4 separate regions of the Homo sapiens genome follow, and regions 1, 2 and 4 are each linked to region 3. Evidence: promoter capture Hi-C in 16 types of primary human blood cells and fetal thymus (Javierre and others, 2016). All regions are on one chromosome and are shown on one strand. The core of a region is centred on a gene start or on the middle of the fragment in contact, and the rest is flanking DNA. Distances in the headings are between cores, read along the strand shown. Region 1 overlaps LOC107987105 (a long non-coding RNA gene). Region 2 overlaps ABCA1 (ATP binding cassette subfamily A member 1). Region 3 holds the start of SMC2 (structural maintenance of chromosomes 2). Region 4 overlaps CT70 (cancer/testis associated transcript 70).

The links. Contacts are between HindIII fragments. The CHiCAGO score rates a contact against its expected background, and 5 or more counts as called.
Region 1: a contact is called between a fragment that was not itself captured here and the fragment with the promoter of SMC2 in region 3, in 2 of 17 cell types (non-activated CD4 T cells and fetal thymus). The highest score is 8.9, in non-activated CD4 T cells.
Region 2: a fragment that was not itself captured here is called in contact with the fragment with the promoter of SMC2 in region 3 in 2 of 17 cell types (total B cells and naive B cells); the score reaches 11.2 in total B cells.
Region 4: a contact is called between a fragment that was not itself captured here and the fragment with the promoter of SMC2 in region 3, in 1 of 17 cell types (total CD8 T cells). The highest score is 5.7, in total CD8 T cells.

The regions. Positions count from the first base shown.
Region 1 is chr9:104,737,107-104,741,562 of GRCh38, reverse strand. The region is part of intron 1 of LOC107987105 (a long non-coding RNA gene); the gene reads left to right. Among named protein-coding and RNA genes, the nearest start is that of NIPSNAP3A, 8.3 kb to the left of the region's middle. The HindIII fragment of the contact is 4,028 bases long and covers 528-4,456 here.
Region 2 is chr9:104,858,628-104,862,853 of GRCh38, reverse strand. ABCA1 (ATP binding cassette subfamily A member 1) reads left to right here. Exons shown (of 50, transcript NM_005502.4): 6 at 1,054-1,175; 7 at 4,156-4,226. Among named protein-coding and RNA genes, the nearest start is that of ABCA1, 67 kb to the left of the region's middle. The HindIII fragment of the contact is 1,308 bases long and covers 1,064-2,371 here.
Region 3 is chr9:104,091,991-104,096,380 of GRCh38, reverse strand. It overlaps SMC2 (structural maintenance of chromosomes 2), which reads right to left and starts at 2,072. Exons shown (of 25, transcript NM_006444.3): 1 at 1,904-2,072; 2 at 829-1,057; 3 at 84-233. The coding sequence starts at 996. It overlaps SMC2-DT (SMC2 divergent transcript), which reads left to right and starts at 3,907. Exons shown (of 3, transcript NR_121580.1): 1 at 3,907-4,292. RefSeq lists enhancers at 1,452-2,119, 2,338-2,657, 2,120-2,789. The HindIII fragment of the contact is 5,032 bases long and covers 1-2,505 here.
Region 4 is chr9:104,969,619-104,973,680 of GRCh38, reverse strand. CT70 (cancer/testis associated transcript 70) reads left to right here. Exons shown (of 4, transcript NR_184160.1): 4 at 125-360. Among named protein-coding and RNA genes, the nearest start is that of CT70, 20 kb to the left of the region's middle. The HindIII fragment of the contact is 2,405 bases long and covers 757-3,161 here.

The sequences.
Region 1 (4,456 bases), core at 1,292-3,791, 640 kb before region 3:
TTGGGAGGCTGAAGCAGGAGAAGTGCTTGAACCCAGGAGGTGGAGGTTGCAGTGGCCCAAGTATGCACCACTGCACTCCAGCCTGGGTGAGAGTTTCAAAAACAAACAAAAACATTTGGTCCTTTGCCTCTTTGTTGTTTTTTGTTTGTTTTCTCTTCTTTGTTTTTGGAATGAAGCATATTTGTTAATTTATATTACTAAAGTCTCCTTTATAATTACCTGTTTATTGAGAACTGAACCCTCTTTGGTTAGTTCTCATACCTACTTGGCTGCCCTTTCATTTTTTAAAGGTTTTAAGAAATATTTACTTAATCTCAGATCACTTGTTCGGTTCTCATCCCTTTTTTTCTCAGAGAATGTCAGTGATGCCTATTTACCGACAAGGGGTCATCAGATTTTATTATTTCTGATATTTCTTACATGCTGTTATGTAGTATACCTTTTACTTAAGTCCTTTCTTACTTTCATTTCACTCTGTAAAGCTGATATTTACATTTTAGACTAAAACACACAGCAAAGAGGAAGCTTAAAGAAGTTAGGTGGTTTGCCAAAGGTAACAAAATAAGCCATTTAGAGCTGGTTGGCTCATTTTAATTGCTCTCTTACAATCCAATATTTGAGCATATTGTAACTTTGTTCCTCTTTCTCTTTTGATACTTAAATATTCCCAGGTTTATAAATAATGCTTCAATGAGTAATTTTGTAGATATGTCCTTAGGCACATCCCTGTAAGTGGAATTAATGAGTCAACTTTACAATTTTTGGTTCACCATAGCCATTTATGCTCCCAGGCAGTGAATCGTATTTCCTCTTCCTGCACATTCTTGCAATTCTTGTAAGACTTTAATATTTGCATATCTTATGGATGAAAAATGTTTCATTGATTTCATTTATATTGCTCTGATTTCTTGTGAATTGAGAATCTTTTCATAATTTTATAGGCCATGTTGTTTTTCTTTTGTTGAGGTCCCTGTTTATATTCTTGGCCCAATTTTTTATTTTGTTGTTCATCTTTTTCATATTGATTTGAATGTTGCAATCCTGTCCCCTCAGCCTCGCAAGGTGTGGCTGGGATTAGAGGTGCACAACCATGCCTGGCTTGGTTTGAATGCTTTAAAAAATATATATATATATTCCGGCCGGGCGTGGTGGCTCATGCCTGTAATCCCATCACCCAAAAGTGATGGGAGGCCGAGACAGGTGGATCATGAGGTCAGGAGGTCAAGACCAGCCTGGCCAAGATGCTGAAACCCTGTCTCTACTAAAAATACAAAAAAATTAGCTGGGCATGGTGGCACATGCCTGTAATCCCAGCTACTTGGGAGGCTGAGGCAGGAGAATCGCTTGAACCCTGGGCGGCAGAGGTTGCAGTGAGCAGAGATTGTGCCACTGCACTCCAGCCTGGGCGACAGAGCAAGACTCCATCTCAAAACAAACAAAACAAAAACTTCCAGACTAATCTTTTTTTTGGATGTATGTTTTACTGATATGTTCTCCCATTTGTAGCTATTATTTAAACTTTCTAAGAGTATTTTGCCATATAGGTGTTTCTAAATTTAAATTATTGGTCTCATGTTTTTGTGCTTTTCCCCCTATTTAAGGTATACTTTCTTTTTCCTTGTGCATGATGATATTCTTGTATATTTTCCTGTAGATATTTTTACAGTTTTGCTTTTGCCCTTTAGGTATTTAATCTCTCTCAAGTTTATTTTAGTCACAGTATGAGGTGTAGATTTAATTTGATCTTTTTTTCAATATTAGTAGTCCATTACCAAAGAACAGTTTATTAAATAGTTCATTTGTTCCCTACCGATTTGTAATGCCATTATAAATCAAAGACCATTCACTTGGGATATAAACTTCCACAGATGCCTAGGCTATTTCTGGATCCTTCTAATCTGTTCCATTGATTAATTTGTCTTTACCTGTATCAGTACTAAGCAATTTGAATTACTGTAGCTTTATTATCCATCTTGACATTTTGTATAGTAAATATACATTTCTTATTATAACATTGTCTTGGCTATTCTTTGTCTTTGCTATTCAGTATGAATTTTTGGATAAGTTTGAGAAACTAAAAAAAATCTCAGTATCATTTTGATGGAAATTATATTAGATTTACAGAGAAATTCTGAATAAATTCATATATTTATTCTTGAATTTCCTAACATGAACAAAATTTGTGTCCCCAGTTTTTGGGAGGTTTTTCTGTGTGCTTTAATGACGATTTATATTTTTCCTCAAAAATTCCTTATGCAGTTTTTATTCATTGGCATTTTATAGTTTTTGTGATGTCATGAGATGCACTTCAAAGTATATTCTCTAACCAGTTGTGTTTCCTGCAGAAAATACTATTGAGTTGATCTTGTGGTTGGCAGCCTTGCTAAAGCCTTTTAGTAGTTTACATTTTAAGATTTTCTAATGGATTTTTTTCTGACTTCCTACAGAGATAATCTTATTTTTAGGCAATAATGACAATTTTGTTTCTCCCTTTTCAATCTTTACGACTCCTTTTCCTTCCTTTATCCCTCCTGCCCTTCCTTCTTTCCTTCCTTTCTTCCCATTTTTCTCTTTTTCTTTCTCCCCTCTTTCCTCTTTCCCTTCCCGATTTTTATTTCTCCCACTGCCCCCTTCTCTCTTTATTGTCGTACATAGGACCTCTGTGCAATGTTGACTATAAGAGGTGAAAACAGGCCTGGCACAGTGGCTCAGACTTCTAATTCCAGCCCTTTGAGAGGCCAGAGGGGGACGACCACTTGAGGCCAGGAGTTGAAGACCAGCCTGGGCAACACAGAGAGAACCCTGTCTCAAAAACAAACAAACAAACAAACAAAAAATTAGCATGTACTTCATAGCTACTCAAGAGACTAAGGTGGGAGGATCACTTGAGCCCAGGAGGTCAAGGTTACAATGAGGCAGGATCACTCCACTGTAGTCCAGCCTTGGTGACAGAGCAAGACCGTTTCTCTGCGGGGGATAAAAAAGTGAAAGCCAGCATTCTTATCTTGTTTGTAAACTTAAAGGGGATTTGTCAATTGTAAGTTTTGATAAATACCCCTTATATCAGTTTTAAAAGTTTGCTTGTTTGTAGTTTGCTAAGTTATTTATTTTAAATTATGAGTGCCTATTAAATTTTATCAAAAGATCTTTTGCATTTAATGAAATGATAATTTTTAAAATCTGTTAATTGAAATTATAGTGAATTACATTAAAATATTTTCAATGTTATGACTTCCTTGCATCGTTTGAATAAACCTTACCCGAAAGTTAGGTATTATTATTTTCTACATTGCTAGATTCTGTTTGCTAGTATTTTATATTTTCCTGTCTATGTTTATAAGTGAGATTGGCTCTTAAGTTTTCCTTTCTCATATTTTCCCTGTTCAGTTTTTGTTTCAGGGCTGTACATACAGGCTTACAAAAAGAGTTGGGGGAGCTTCCCATTCCCTTTTTAAATATTTTATGAACCAATTTATATATCAGGGGTTACCTGTTCTTGGAAAATGTGTTAGAATTATCCAGGGAAATTATTTGGGCCTGGTAAATAAAAAAATATATATATATATATATATAAAATATATTTTATTATGGTAAAATACAGATAACATACAATTTACCATCTTAACCATTTTTAAGTGTACAGTTCAGTGGTATTAAATATATTCATAATGTTGTGCAAGCATCACCACCATCCATCTCCAGAACTCTTTTCTTTCTTTTTTTTTTTTTTTTTGAGCTGTCACCCAGGCTGGAGTGCAGTGGCACCATCTTGGCTCACTGCTACCTCTACTTCCTGAGTTCAAGCTACTCTCTTGCTTCAGCCTTCTGAGTAGCTGGGATTACAGGCACCCGTCATCATGCCCGGCTAATTTTTGTATTTTTACAGAGACGGGGTTTCACCATCTTGGCCAGGCTGGTCTTAAACTCCTGACCTCAGGTGATCCACCTGCCTTGGCCTCCCAAAGTGCTGGGATTATAGGTGTGAGCCACCACATCCAGCCTTCATAACTCTTTTCATCTTGTAAAACTGAAACTCCGTGCCCATTAAATAATAATTCCCCATTCTCCCCTTCCCCCAGCCACTGGCAACTACCCTTCTACTTTCTGTATCTATGATTTTGATGACTCTAACTACCTCATATTAGTGGAATCATACAGTATTTATCTTTTTGTGACTGGCTTATTCAATATGATGTCCTCAGTGCTTTACCATGTTATAGCATGTGTTAGAATTTGCTTCCTTTTTAAGGCTGAATAATATTTTATTTATGTATATACCACATTTTGCATATCCATTCATTCATCAATGGACACTGAGTTGCTTCCATGTTTTAACTATTGCTTGTTGGCCATTTGTGTTTCTTCTTTTGAGAATTGTCTATTCATGTCCTTTGCCCACTTTTTGATGGAATTGTTTGTTTTTCTTGCTGATTTGTTTGAGTTCTTTGTAGATTCT
Region 2 (4,226 bases), core at 468-2,967, 770 kb before region 3:
GCCAGTGTTTGTCAAAACATGGTCCCCAGGTCAGCAGCATCAGCATCACCTGTAAGTGATTCTCCAGTCGCATCCCAGGGCCGCTGTATCAGAAACTCTGGGGGTGGGGGTGGGGGTGGGGGTGGGGGTGGGGGTGGGGGTGGGGGTGGGGGCCGGCCCGGCCCGGCCCGGCCCGGCCCGGCCCGGCCCGGCCCGGCCCGGCCCGGCCCGGCCCGGCCCGGCAGTCTGCATTTTAACAAGCTCTCCAGGTGATTCTGATGCATACTTAAGTTTGAGAACCATTGCTTGTTTTGCATTAAACAGGAGATTAGTCTCTGCAGCTTGTGGGAATAAAGCTTTAAATCTCTCCAATTTTAGCTCTGTGAAAAGGCAGTGGGGAGACAGGAATGAACGGACTAGTGCCACAAAGCTCAGGTGGGGTGGGTGAGATCATTTAGAAGAGAAAGACCGGGCATGGTGGCTCACGCCTGTACTGTCAGCACTTTGGGAGGCCAAGGCAGGTTGGATCACAAGGTCAGGAGTTTGAGACCAGCCTGCCTATCATGGTGAAACCCTGTCTGTACTAAAGATAAAAAAAAAAAAATTTGCCAGTCATGGTGATGCATACCTGTAATCCCAGCTACTCGGGAGGCTGAGGCAGGAGAATCTCTTGAACCCGGGAGGCGGGGGTTGCAGTGAGCTGAGATTCCACCATTGCACTCCAACCTAGGTGACAGGGTGAGACTCCGTCTCAAAATAAAAAAAAAAAAAGAAAAGGAAAGGCTGTGTGTGTGTGTATGTGTGTGTGTGTGTGTGTGTGTGTGTAACAGCACCATCACACTGTTTGAGTTGAGGAGCACATGCTGAGTGTGGCTCAACATGTTACCAGAAAGCAATATTTTCATGCCTCTCCTGATATGGCGATGCTCCCCTATCTCATTCCTGTGTGTGTTTAGCCAGGCAACTGTTGATCATCAATATTATGATAACGTTTCTCCACTGTCCCATTGTGCCCACTTTTTTTTTTTTTTTGAGTTACTTACTAAATAAAAATAAAACACTATTTCTCAATAGACTTGAAGCTTCAAGATTTCCTGGTGGACAATGAAACCTTCTCTGGGTTCCTGTATCACAACCTCTCTCTCCCAAAGTCTACTGTGGACAAGATGCTGAGGGCTGATGTCATTCTCCACAAGGTAAGCTGATGCCTCCAGCTTCCTCAGTAGGGCTGATGGCAATTACGTTGTGCAGCTACTGGAAAGAAATGAATAAACCCTTGTCCTTGTAATGGTGGTGAAGGGGAGGGAGGTAGTTTGAATACAACTTCACTTAATTTTACTTCCCTATTCAGGCAGGAATTGCCAAACCATCCAGGAGTGGAATATGCAACCTGGCGTCATGGGCCAGCTGGTTAAAATAAAATTGATTTCTGGCTTATCACTTGGCATTTGTGATGATTTCCTCCTACAAGGGATACATTTTAAGTTGAGTTAAACTTAAAAAATATTCACAGTTCTGAGGCAATAACCGTGGTTAAGGGTTATTGATCTGGAGGAGCTCTGTCTAAAAAATTGAGGACAGGAGACTTTAGACAAGGGTGTATTTGGAGACTTTTAAGAATTTTATAAAATAAGGGCTGGACGCAGTGGCACTGAGTTGAGAACTGTTGCTTGCTTTGCATTAAATAGGAGATCAGTCCCTGCAGCTTGTGGGAATAAGGCTTTAAATCTCTCCAATTTTAGCTCTGTGAGATGGCACTGGGGAAACAGAAATGAACGGACTAGTGTCACAAAGCTCAGGTGGGATGGACGAGATCACTTCAAAGGTCTGTAATCCCACGTCTATAATCCCAGCACTTTGGGAGGCCAAGGCGGGAAAATCACTTGAGGTCAGGAGTTCGAGACCATCCTGGCCAACATGGCAAAGCCTGTCTCTACTAAAAATATGAAAATTAGCTCAGCGTGGTGGCATGCTCCTGTAGTCCCAGCTACTCGTGAGGCTGAGACAGGAGAATCGTTTGAACCTGGGAGGCGGAGGTTGCAGTGAGCCAATATCACGCCATTGCACTCCAGCCTGGCTGACAGAGTGAGACTCCATCTCAAAAAAAAAAAAAAAAAAAGAATTTTATAAAATCAGGAAATAATATTAGTGTTTATGTTGAATTTTAACTTTAGAATCATAGAAAACTTCCTCTGGCATCATTATTAGACAGCTCTTGTGCAGTGGGTAGCACCAGACCCAGCTTGCATGGTTATTGATTTTTCAGAGACACTTTTTGAGCTTATTCTCTGGCAGAAAGGGGAACTGCTTCCTCCCCTATCTCGTGTCTGCATACTAGCTTGTCTTTACAAGAAGCAGAAGTAGTGGAAATGTTTATTCTTGAAAATAAGCTTTTTGCTTCACATGATCTAGAATTTTTAAAATTAGAAAAATGTGCTTACTGCGTGCCCTTCTGAAACTAGGAAAATATGCCTTGTGTTTACCAATTGTGTGGTTAGGAGATGGGCCAAAGGCATCAGGCTTTTGAAAGTAGTTGCATTTAGCATAATTTCCATTGCCCCCTGCCAATTTCATATCTGTCACATCTAATCAGTTTAAAATAAGGGGCATCCTAAGCATGGAGATGGTCCTTGGATGGTCCTTGGAGTTTCTGTATTTTCAGTATTCTTTTTTTTGAGCATACAAGACATTTATTGAAAAATTCTTGGGATCAATACTTGTGTAAGGAAAGGAAAGGGAACAAAGCATGATTGGGCAGAGGCAGAAGATGACATCAACAAAGGCCCTCCGTTGTCAGTATTCTTTTTTTTTTTTTTTTTTTGAGTTGGAGTCTCGCTCTGTCACCCAGGCTGGAGTGCAGTGGCGTGATCTCAGCTCACTACAACCTCTGCCTCCCAGGTTCAAGTGATTCTCTGCTTCAGCCTCCTGAGTAGCTGGGATTACAGGCATGCACCACCACACCTGGCTAATTGTTGTATTTTTAGTAGAGACGGGGTTTCACCATGTTGGTTGGCCAGACTGGTCTTGAACTCCTGACCTCAGGTGATCCGTCTGCCTTGGCCTCCCAAAGTGTTGGAATTACAGACATGACCCACTGCACCCGGCCTGTTGTCAGTATTCTTAAACATAGACACTAACTGTAGGCTGACAGCCTAGCAGCAAGGACCAGTTAAAGAAATGAGTAGAACTGAAGTGTGCTTGAGTATCTCTGGCAGTCAGCAAAAACTTAATGGGAATCATGGTAGGCCAAATGTTCTGCAGTATTTCAAAAGCTGCATGGGTTTTGAGAGGCTTTTGGTCCATCACTCACCTTAGGTTGTTCTACAAGCACATCAGCCTGCCCCAATTTAAACAGGGCAGTTAGTAATGGTGTAATAAAGAGTCTGCATTGTTCATTCCTTCAACAAATACTGGCTATAATGTTTCAGCACTGTGGATGCAAAGTGAGCAGGATAAACAGGCTCTTCTTTCAAAGCTTGTGGTCCACTGGACCACGTATGAAGTAGAATAGTTTAGGTCCAGAAAGGCAATTAAGTAAAATATGACCAAGAAGAGGCTCTCTAGTGGGTTTGGTATAAAGAAAAGATAAGAATGATTTAGAATTGGCCTATCAATGAGATAAGAGGCCTGGCTTTCTGGCACTCTGCTCTAGGGCAAGTAAAATGGAGAATTCCAAATTCTGAAATTGTTAGAACATAGTTCTGTGTCTTAGTTAAATATCTACACTTACAGATAAATAGCATAAATGCTTTCTCCCCATATTTCAGCCCAGTCCTACTTAAAGACAACATAAATTGCAAAATAGTGAGGATGTTGTTCATCTAATAAAAGTGGTTCCAGGAATTCAGACTCTGGATTCCTGTTTGCCAAATCATGTGTCCCACTCTTAAGAAAACGAGTTGGACTCTGGATTTTTCTTTGCAAGAGGGACAAGAGTGTGGGAGATACTGAGTTAATGCAACTTGCAGGTTTTAAGTGTCCTGTCATTGTGCCTTGTGCTTTGATACATTCTGAGTTTCAGTAAAGAGACCTGATGCATTGGACTGTTGCAATGGAACCTGTTTTAAGATCTTCAAAGCTGTATTGATATGAAGTTCTCCAAAAGACTTCAAGGACCCAGCTTCCAATCTTCATAATCCTCTTGTGCTTGTCTCTCTTTGCATGAAATGCTTCCAGGTATTTTTGCAAGGCTACCAGTTACATTTGACAAGTCTGTGCAATGGATCAAAATCAGAAGAGATGATTCA
Region 3 (4,390 bases), core at 823-3,322:
GCACGTTTTGCAAAGGCATAGGGCCAAAAACCACATCAGACATAAAAGGTCTTAAGATACCCAAAGGTTTAATTGCCACTCACCTGCCTTGTTACTGTGATTTCATCATGAACCTCAAATCCTAAAGGACTTTGCTTTTTGTCAGAATTATCAAAAGTGATTGACACAGAGGCTTTGGTAATACCAGCCTGCCCATTTTTGTAAACTAAATCTTGTAAATTAGAAGCCCGAACCTAAAATAAAATATGAAAAGTGTAACAATTACAAAACTCCCTACCGTACAAAGCAGCACTAAAAATGGGTCCCTTGCTGTTGGAAAACCCACCAACGTAGTGTCCATTAAGTAGACAAGGTTAGGCAGCTGCATCCTCTGGCAAGAAAAACAAGGAAAATAGGCAACAACCTGCAATGGACACTTTTCTCTACAGAACCTTTTCAACCCTGAATTGAATTGTTTCCTATTCATTTTTTAATAAAAAGTTACTTTGCAAGATATAAGGAAATACTGTCCCAAAGATTTTCACTAGTCATTCAATCCATTAATAGGATTTGAAAAGGCATCATTACACAGGGTTGAAAATACTCTGGAATGAGACTGCTTTACAGTCAGAATGCCTGAGTTTTGAGGCACTGTTACTTCTAAACATCTCTAAGTTTCTATTTTCTCATCTAAAGGAGTAATATTACTTTCCTTAAAAGGTTGCAGTGAGGTGTAATTTACAAAAAGTATAAAAACACAAATGAAGAGAATATCGGGACGTCTCCAAAGTTCAGTGAGGATTCTCCTGCCAACTTAAATTCAAATAAATCAGAAAGTTTACACTTTACCTGAGACAGGTTGGAGATGCCCAGCAAAAAGCAGATGGAGTCCAATATGTTGGATTTCCCACTACCATTTAAGCCAGTGATAGCATTGAAGAGGGGGTCAAAACCATTGACTTCGGTCCTCTGAGCATAGGACTTGAATCCCTCTAGAATAATTGACTTAATATGCATTTTCGATACTGTCTTGGGTCAGCAAACCTCTGACAGGAATCAAACAGGCCACAAACCAGTTCTGTACGAAACAGAAATACCACCACCTAAGTGGAATGTAAACCTGGAATCATAATGAACACGAGGCAAAAACAGCAACGATAGGGTGATAGAAATAAAACAGCCACTTGACAAACTATCTTGTCTGATGTAAAGACATCGTTCATCTACTCAAAAATATACCAGAGTTAGCCACTATCTGGAAATTAAACCATTCAACTGGGAAGTCTTAACTATTTCTTCTACCCGTTTTTCCAGGCTTGCCTTCTACTTTTATCATACTCTACCTAAACAAAGACTATGGATTATTACATATCCCATTATCTTTGCCTATAATGTGCTTTTCTCTGATACTGACATAGCTTACTCTCTACTGCACTCACGTCTTTGCTCAAATGTCACCTTACTGGAGTCCTCCCTGACCTCCCTATGTCACCTCTCCACAATCCTTCACTCGGCTTTCTTTTTCCTTCATGGTACTTAAAGCTGATATTAGACGGTCATTACTTGTCTGTAAGTTCCCGCAGTGTCTTCACCTACGTCCGTCATTGCATCCCCGAATTGTGCTTGACTCCGGGAGGAGGGGAAGTCATTTAAGTATTTACTAGAGATGAGATGTATCTCATATTCTCCAACTTCTTGCTTTTACTCAGGCTTTTACCTCGCTTCTCCAGGCCTGTCTACACCTCTTCGCCCTACTCCAAGGTCGAACAGAAGCTAGCCTTTATTTCTAAGGATCACCTAAGGTCCCTCTGCCACTGGTCCCCCTCCCTACAGCCCCCGCGCCCCGCGCCCCGCCTCCCGCCTCCCGCCTCCCGCCAGGAAGTCTGGCCCGGCCCAACCGGCCGTGCTCACGCACACGCCTCACCGCTGCCTCAGGCCAGGGGCTTGACGCACCCCAAAAGCTCCTCCGGGTCACAAAGGCAGGGAACAGAACAACTCTCTAGCCGGGGCCGCTACAAAGCGAACTTCACCATAGCGGCTACAACACCTGCCACACCGCTCTCAACACCCGCGCCGGAACTATTTATTCCTTTGAATTTCGGCGCGAGCAAAGGACCCCACCTCCATTGCTTATTTCCTGTGCTGGTGCCTAGGAGCTGCCTGTCTTTAGGGTTCAATTTTTCCCCTACACTCGAAGGATTAAAGCCGCAGGGCAATAGAATGAGAGTCTCGATAATGGTAGCTCCGGGGACTCCCCGGCAGGGGCCTGGGCACTACAGGAGCAGATAGTGTATGTTCACACCGGCGTCCGGCACTCTATGGTCAGCCCCACACCTCGGCCCCGGGTCCTCGCGCTTCGCCAGCCCCGCCCCGCCTCGGTCCCTCTAGTTCGCGTTAGGCACACTGCAGACTCCGCCTTCTCCAGTCTGCGGTGCTGGCTGTGGCTTACTTTTCTCTCCTCAAAGCGACAGTTAGGAAGTGGAGAGGCATTCTATGAGTGTTCTCGTCGGTTCTGTTTTGGAAGCTTCAGAATCTTCTCGGGTTGGCTCAGATTGCTGCAAAATAAAAGCTGTACTTCTTGGGGCCAGAGAGGCACCGTCCTTCGGGGGACTCTGGCCCGCGTCCTGGCTCCGCCCCGTACTGGCCTCGGACCTCGGGGAGCGTTTTTATCTGAAGTTTCCACGTCGGAAAGGGATCGTAGTCTACCGAGAGCTGTTCCGAGCCCAGAGGAGAAATTGTGTGGTGCTAAATAGCTATTCATCTCCCTTATACCGGAAAGCGTTGTAATGATAAGCCGACCTAACCTGTTGGGGATTTTTTCTGGAAACCTTTTAAGACAGTTCATGTTATTGAGTTCTGAATATTAGGCTATATTGCAAGGGGCTTTTTAAAATCCACGTAGCAACCCTATGAAATCAGAAATTGCCCTCGTTTTACAAATGAGTTAAATGAGACCAAGTAAAAGGTTAAACAGCTTGTCTAGTAAGCTGGGATTTGTTCCCAGGCGGTCTAGCTCCAGATTGCATGCTTTTAAATACTAGGCTTCATGCATAGAATCTAGTATTATTAGCCGATCCTATTATTAGTATGTATTGTTCTTTAGGAAGAAAAAACGTGTCAGGATTGCTCACGTTTCCAAGCACGTTGATACTTAAGAGTTAGGAAGGGCTTAACTCCGAATGGGTATGGTGTTACCCTAAGTGAGGTTCAAAAAGATGGTGTGGGCAACAATGCTATTTTGGAATGGCTTGATCCTTTTGGGCTTCCATAACAAAATATCCTAGACTGGGTAGTTTATGAACCACAGAAGTTTATTCTTCACATTTCTGAAGGCTGGAATGTCACAGAATAAGGTGTGTCTAGGGAGGGGTGCTTTCTCTTTAGTGGATAGCACCTTCTGGCTCTGTCCTCGCATGGTGGAGAGGCAGAGGCCCTCGCTTGGGCCTATTTTATAAGGACCTTAATCCCATTCCTCACTTCCCAAGATGCCACTTGCTAAAACCGTCAGTTCGGGAGTTAGGATTTCAAAATGTGCATTTTGAGGGACACATTTAGACCATAGCGTAGGTCATGTTTTTAAAGTTGCTTTCTTGGCCCTGGAATGGCAATGCAGTCATCTGAATTGGTCTTAACCTACCAGGAATGGGCTTATATTTTGAAAATATTTCTCGATAAGGGAGTAAAATAAGTTGTATGGGTTTTTTGTTTAAGAAAGGATTCCTTTGTTTACTCTGGTATGCTTATCCACTTCTGTGATGTCAACCATGGGTAGTGACCTAACATTAATTTAATTCAACAGATATCTTTGTCTGCCTTGATTCCTGCATCCCCTGGGCTCCACAGCTATTCACTTGTATTGATTCTGTTAACTCTTACACATTAACTTTGAGCTGTGTCTCCTTCCTTTTATCATTTTGTGAGTAAAGAATTTTAATTTGCCAACAAATCCTAATGTGGACTTTGTCACGTTGTGAAATAAAGTGATTTTTTGGTATGGAAATATGTGTTAAGACAGACTGTTAGTCTTTGCACTTTAACAACTAGCTGATACACTTACGTCACATGGATGAAAACATACACAAGTGCACTGTTGTTGGATAAGGACTCCTGGGTGGTTAGAAGAATGTGCAGATCTAACTACTCCCATTAAGACCATTGATTAAAATGAAAAATGCTTATAAAGGTGGAGATCTCTCAGTTTTAGTCTTATTGCGTGCCAGAAGCACTAAGGAATTGCTGCTAAATATAAGACAAATGGACTTGAGGAAATCACTGATGACTAACTTGAAACTCTGCCTCCTGAGATCACACAGGTGAGTGGAAAAAACCAAGGCACAAAGCCAGTGAAGCCCCCTAATTTGGAGATGTGAGGGGTAGAAACAGAGAGTATAGGGTAGATGCAGTGTACAGA
Region 4 (4,062 bases), core at 710-3,209, 880 kb before region 3:
GCAACATTAATTGTGCATGAAGCAAAGTGGTGTTATTAAGAGATTCAATATGTATAGCTGTTGGGACTCTCATTGCTGGAATGGTGGCTCTGAATCACAGATACTTTCATTTTTCTCAGAACAGTTCAACTTGGAGCACCCGCTATATGCCCCACGCTGTGACAGACTCTCAGGGGACACCAAGGGAAGTAAGGCCCAGCTCCCGCCTCAAAGAGCTGACCATCAACTGGCGGGGATTAGACAATGAGAGAAGTCCAAGCTAAAGAAAGTACCACAGGAGAAACACCAGGCGCTTGAGGTTTCAAAGGAGGGAAAGGATATATCAGGTTGGAGATACTAACAAAAGACTTTATTCATTCATCCATGTATATCCAATGAAAATATTTATTGGGTGCCTACTATATACCAGGCACTAAGTTAGCTATCAGGAATAAGATATAAGTAAGCCATTATTCCTAGCCTCAAAGACTTCATAAAAAAGTAGGAGGAACACACATGTAGACAAACAATAATATTCATTAATTCATTTATTCAACATTTAATGAGTATCTATTAAGTCCCAAGCTCAAGAGTGGTGAGAAGAAAGGTCTCTGTGGTAAAGGAACCCACAGTCTAGCTCAGATGATAGGTGTATAAACAGAACATTTCTATGTAAAGTAGTGTGTTCAGTGCTGTGATAGGTATGTTAAAAAAAATTGCAAAGTCTCAAGATAGAGGGTGAAGGGCAATAAACTCTTTCTGGGGTCAGAGAAAGCTTCTGTAGAGAACACAACAGAGGGAGTATTACAGGACGAAGGAGCTTTTCAGGTAATTATAGAGAGGCAGGAGGAAGAGTATCTGAGGCAGGTTGTACCAATATGGCTGGAATAAGAAGAGTAGAGATGTACCAGAGACAGAGGGTGGCCAAATGGTGCGAGGTTTTAGAGCCCTTCAGCTGAAAGAATGGAATGTCAAGGTATAATGACCACTCAGAGGAGCAGGTAAACAACTGAGTGCAGGGTGTGGATGGAATCTCAGGGAAAGGTTCCTGGTGGAGTACATATCTGAGAGTTTTAAGTAATGTGCAGGAACTTGTTAAGAAGAAACAGCATTCCTCAGAATGGATTTTGCAGGTGAAAATAATGGAGAGAAGAAATTTCAGAGTCAACAGCTTGAGCAAAAAGCAAAGAAGCAAAAAGCCCACGTACATACAATCAGGGAGAGGTGAGAGCCTGTGAAGGCGGCTCTTCACATGTCTCTAATCTCAGTGAACTCTGTGTTTCTGCCCTGACTCTGCTCATTGTACAACATGGGGGAGGGGTCCTCCTTCCATCCCTTTCTCCTCTTCAAGGGTGACTCTTGGGTACTCAGAGTTTTATGAAATTAGGAGACCAAACTTGTTTCGTTTGTTTGTTTGTTTTTGAGACAGAGTCTTACTCTGTTGCCCAGGCTGGAGTGCAGTGGTGTGTTCTCGGCTCACTGCAATCTCTGCCTCCCGGGTTCAGGTGATTCTCATGTCTCAGCCTCCCGAGTAGATGGGATCACAGGCATGCACCACCATGCCAGGCTAATTTTTGTATTTTTAGTAGAGACAGGGTTTCACCATGTTGTCCACTCTGGTCTCGAACTCCTGACTTCAGGTGATCCAACTGCTTCAGCCTCCCAAAGAGCTGGGATTACAGGGGTGTGCCACCACACCTGGCCCAAACTTGTTTTTAAGGCCCCCAGATCAACAGTGGCTGCTACAGGCTTAAGAGTATGGCAAAAAAAAAAAAAAAAAAAAAAAGGCTCTAGGCTCCAATGCAGAAGTGACCAGGCTGAGCTCCTCCTTCCAGACTACTGACGCACACCAAAGCCCTCTGCCCTATGTTAGAGGCTGGGGATGCCAAAAAGGACCATTCCTGGTTTTTCCTTCTGGGTTTGGAATTTACTGAGAAATAAGACCAGGTCTGCCTCCTTACACACACTACTAACAAGCATCCAAATTGGGGCCGTCATTTGAGTCACCTGGGAAGTTTGCATTACATGCCTAGTCCAGGGATTCCACTATCTTGGAAGAACATTTCTGAAATTCCTTTGTTGGAATTTCATGGGGTCACAGTCAGACCCATAGACACCACCTACCCAGTTCTACTCTTCACTTCGTATGTGGGGTCACCAAGGCTCTGGAGCTTTGAAACCCACTGAGACAACATTTCCAATTGCAGGCACAGCTGAAACCTATCCTCTGCTTTCCTAAGACATGACTTTCCTTCAGAGCCACTTTACAAGCCACAGAAGAAATCCTAAGATTTCTTAGGATTCTCCTAAGAATTCCTAAGATCTCCTGAATCTATAGCAGTAGTTGTTCATTTCTTTGAATCATGGAGTCCTTGGGGAAAATCTGTTAAAGCTAAAAACAGGATCCCTCAGTAAAGAACACATACAGCCAGGTGTGGGGGCTCACGCCTGTAATCCCAGCACTTTGGGAAGCCGAGGCAGGTGGATCACTTGAGCTCAGGAGCTCAAGACCAGCCTGGGCAACATGGTGAAACCAGTCTCTACCAAAAATACAAAAATTTAGCCAGACATGGTGGTACACACCTGTGGTCCCAGCTACTTGGGAGGCTGAGCTGGGAGGATTGATCCCTTGAGCCTGGGAGGCAGAGGTTGCAGTGAGCCAAGATAATACCACTGCACTCCAACCTGGGTGACAGAGTGAGACCCTGTCTCAAAAATAAATAGACAAAAATACACATATACTTAAAAACTTCCACACACTCCAGGATGAGAACTCTTGCCCTATGTCAGCATACTAACTCCTTCCTTCAAATTTCAACAGCAGCTATTATGCAGCATGATCATCTTCCTCATACTCTAGACCTCCAGCCAAGTGACTTCTGGCTCTTCCCAACTATCAAATCCCTAAAGGAACGAGATGTTCCTGTGCTGAGGAGGTCCAAAAGAATGTGCTGTAGATTCAAAAGCCATTTCCACAAGGAGCATTCCAAGGATATTTGAAGAAATCCAGAGTCCCTGGAAAGCACAGCTTCTCCAGATGACCACCTAGAAGAGGGTAGCATCTCCGTACCTGTGCTGGTTGGCTCTTAAATAATCAGTCCCTTTCCCAGGCAAGGCTCATGGGGAGCCTTTGGTGTGATAACTTCTTATATGCTAATACAATAATGGACAATTCCAAAGCTTAGCAGAGAGCCCCCATTAGCAGATACTGCCTTCTCCATTCAGGTTTTTGGAACCACGCCAGGCAGTTATGTGCATCTGCCTTCCTGTTCCAAACTTTGTATAAACATGTACCTCTATTTTCTTCTTCTTTTTTTTTTTTTTTTGGTGGCGGGGGGTACGGAGTCTCACTCTGTCACCAGGTTGTAGTGGAGCGATCTCGGCTCACTGCAACCTCCACCTCCCAAGTTCAAGCGATTCTCCTGCCTCAGCCTGCCGAGTAGCTGGGACTACAGGCATGTGCCACCATGCCCAGCTAATTTTGTATTTTTAGTAGAGACAGGGTTTCACCATGTTGGCCAGGATGGTCTCCATCTCTTGACCTCATGATCTGCCCGCCTCGGCCTCCCAAAGTGCTGGGATTACAAGTGTGAGCCACTGTGCCCAGCCTACCTCTATTTTCATCTCCACCTCTCCCAACAGACTCTGGGCACAGACATGAAGGTCAGACACTGGACTCATGCATTCATCATTTATATGTCTATTTGACATGTATGAAAAGGCCACTATATGTTAGCACTGCTAATACAATGGTGAACAAAATAGTGCTGCAGCTTCTCAAGCAAGGCAGGCAGGCCAGGTAGGGTGGCTCGTGTCTGTAATTCCAGAACTTTGGGACGTTGAAGCAGGAGGATCACTTGAGCCCAGAAGTTTGAAATCAGCCTGAGTAACATTGTGAGACCTCCTCTAAATTTTTTTTTTTTAATTAGCTGGGCATGGTGGTGCACGCCTGTACTTCCAGCTACTCCAGAGGCTGAGGTGGGAGAAGGATCGCTTGAGCCCAGGAGTCTGAACTTGCAGTGAGCTATGATCGCACCACTGCACTTCAACCTGGGTGACAGAGGGAGACCCTGTCTCAAAGAA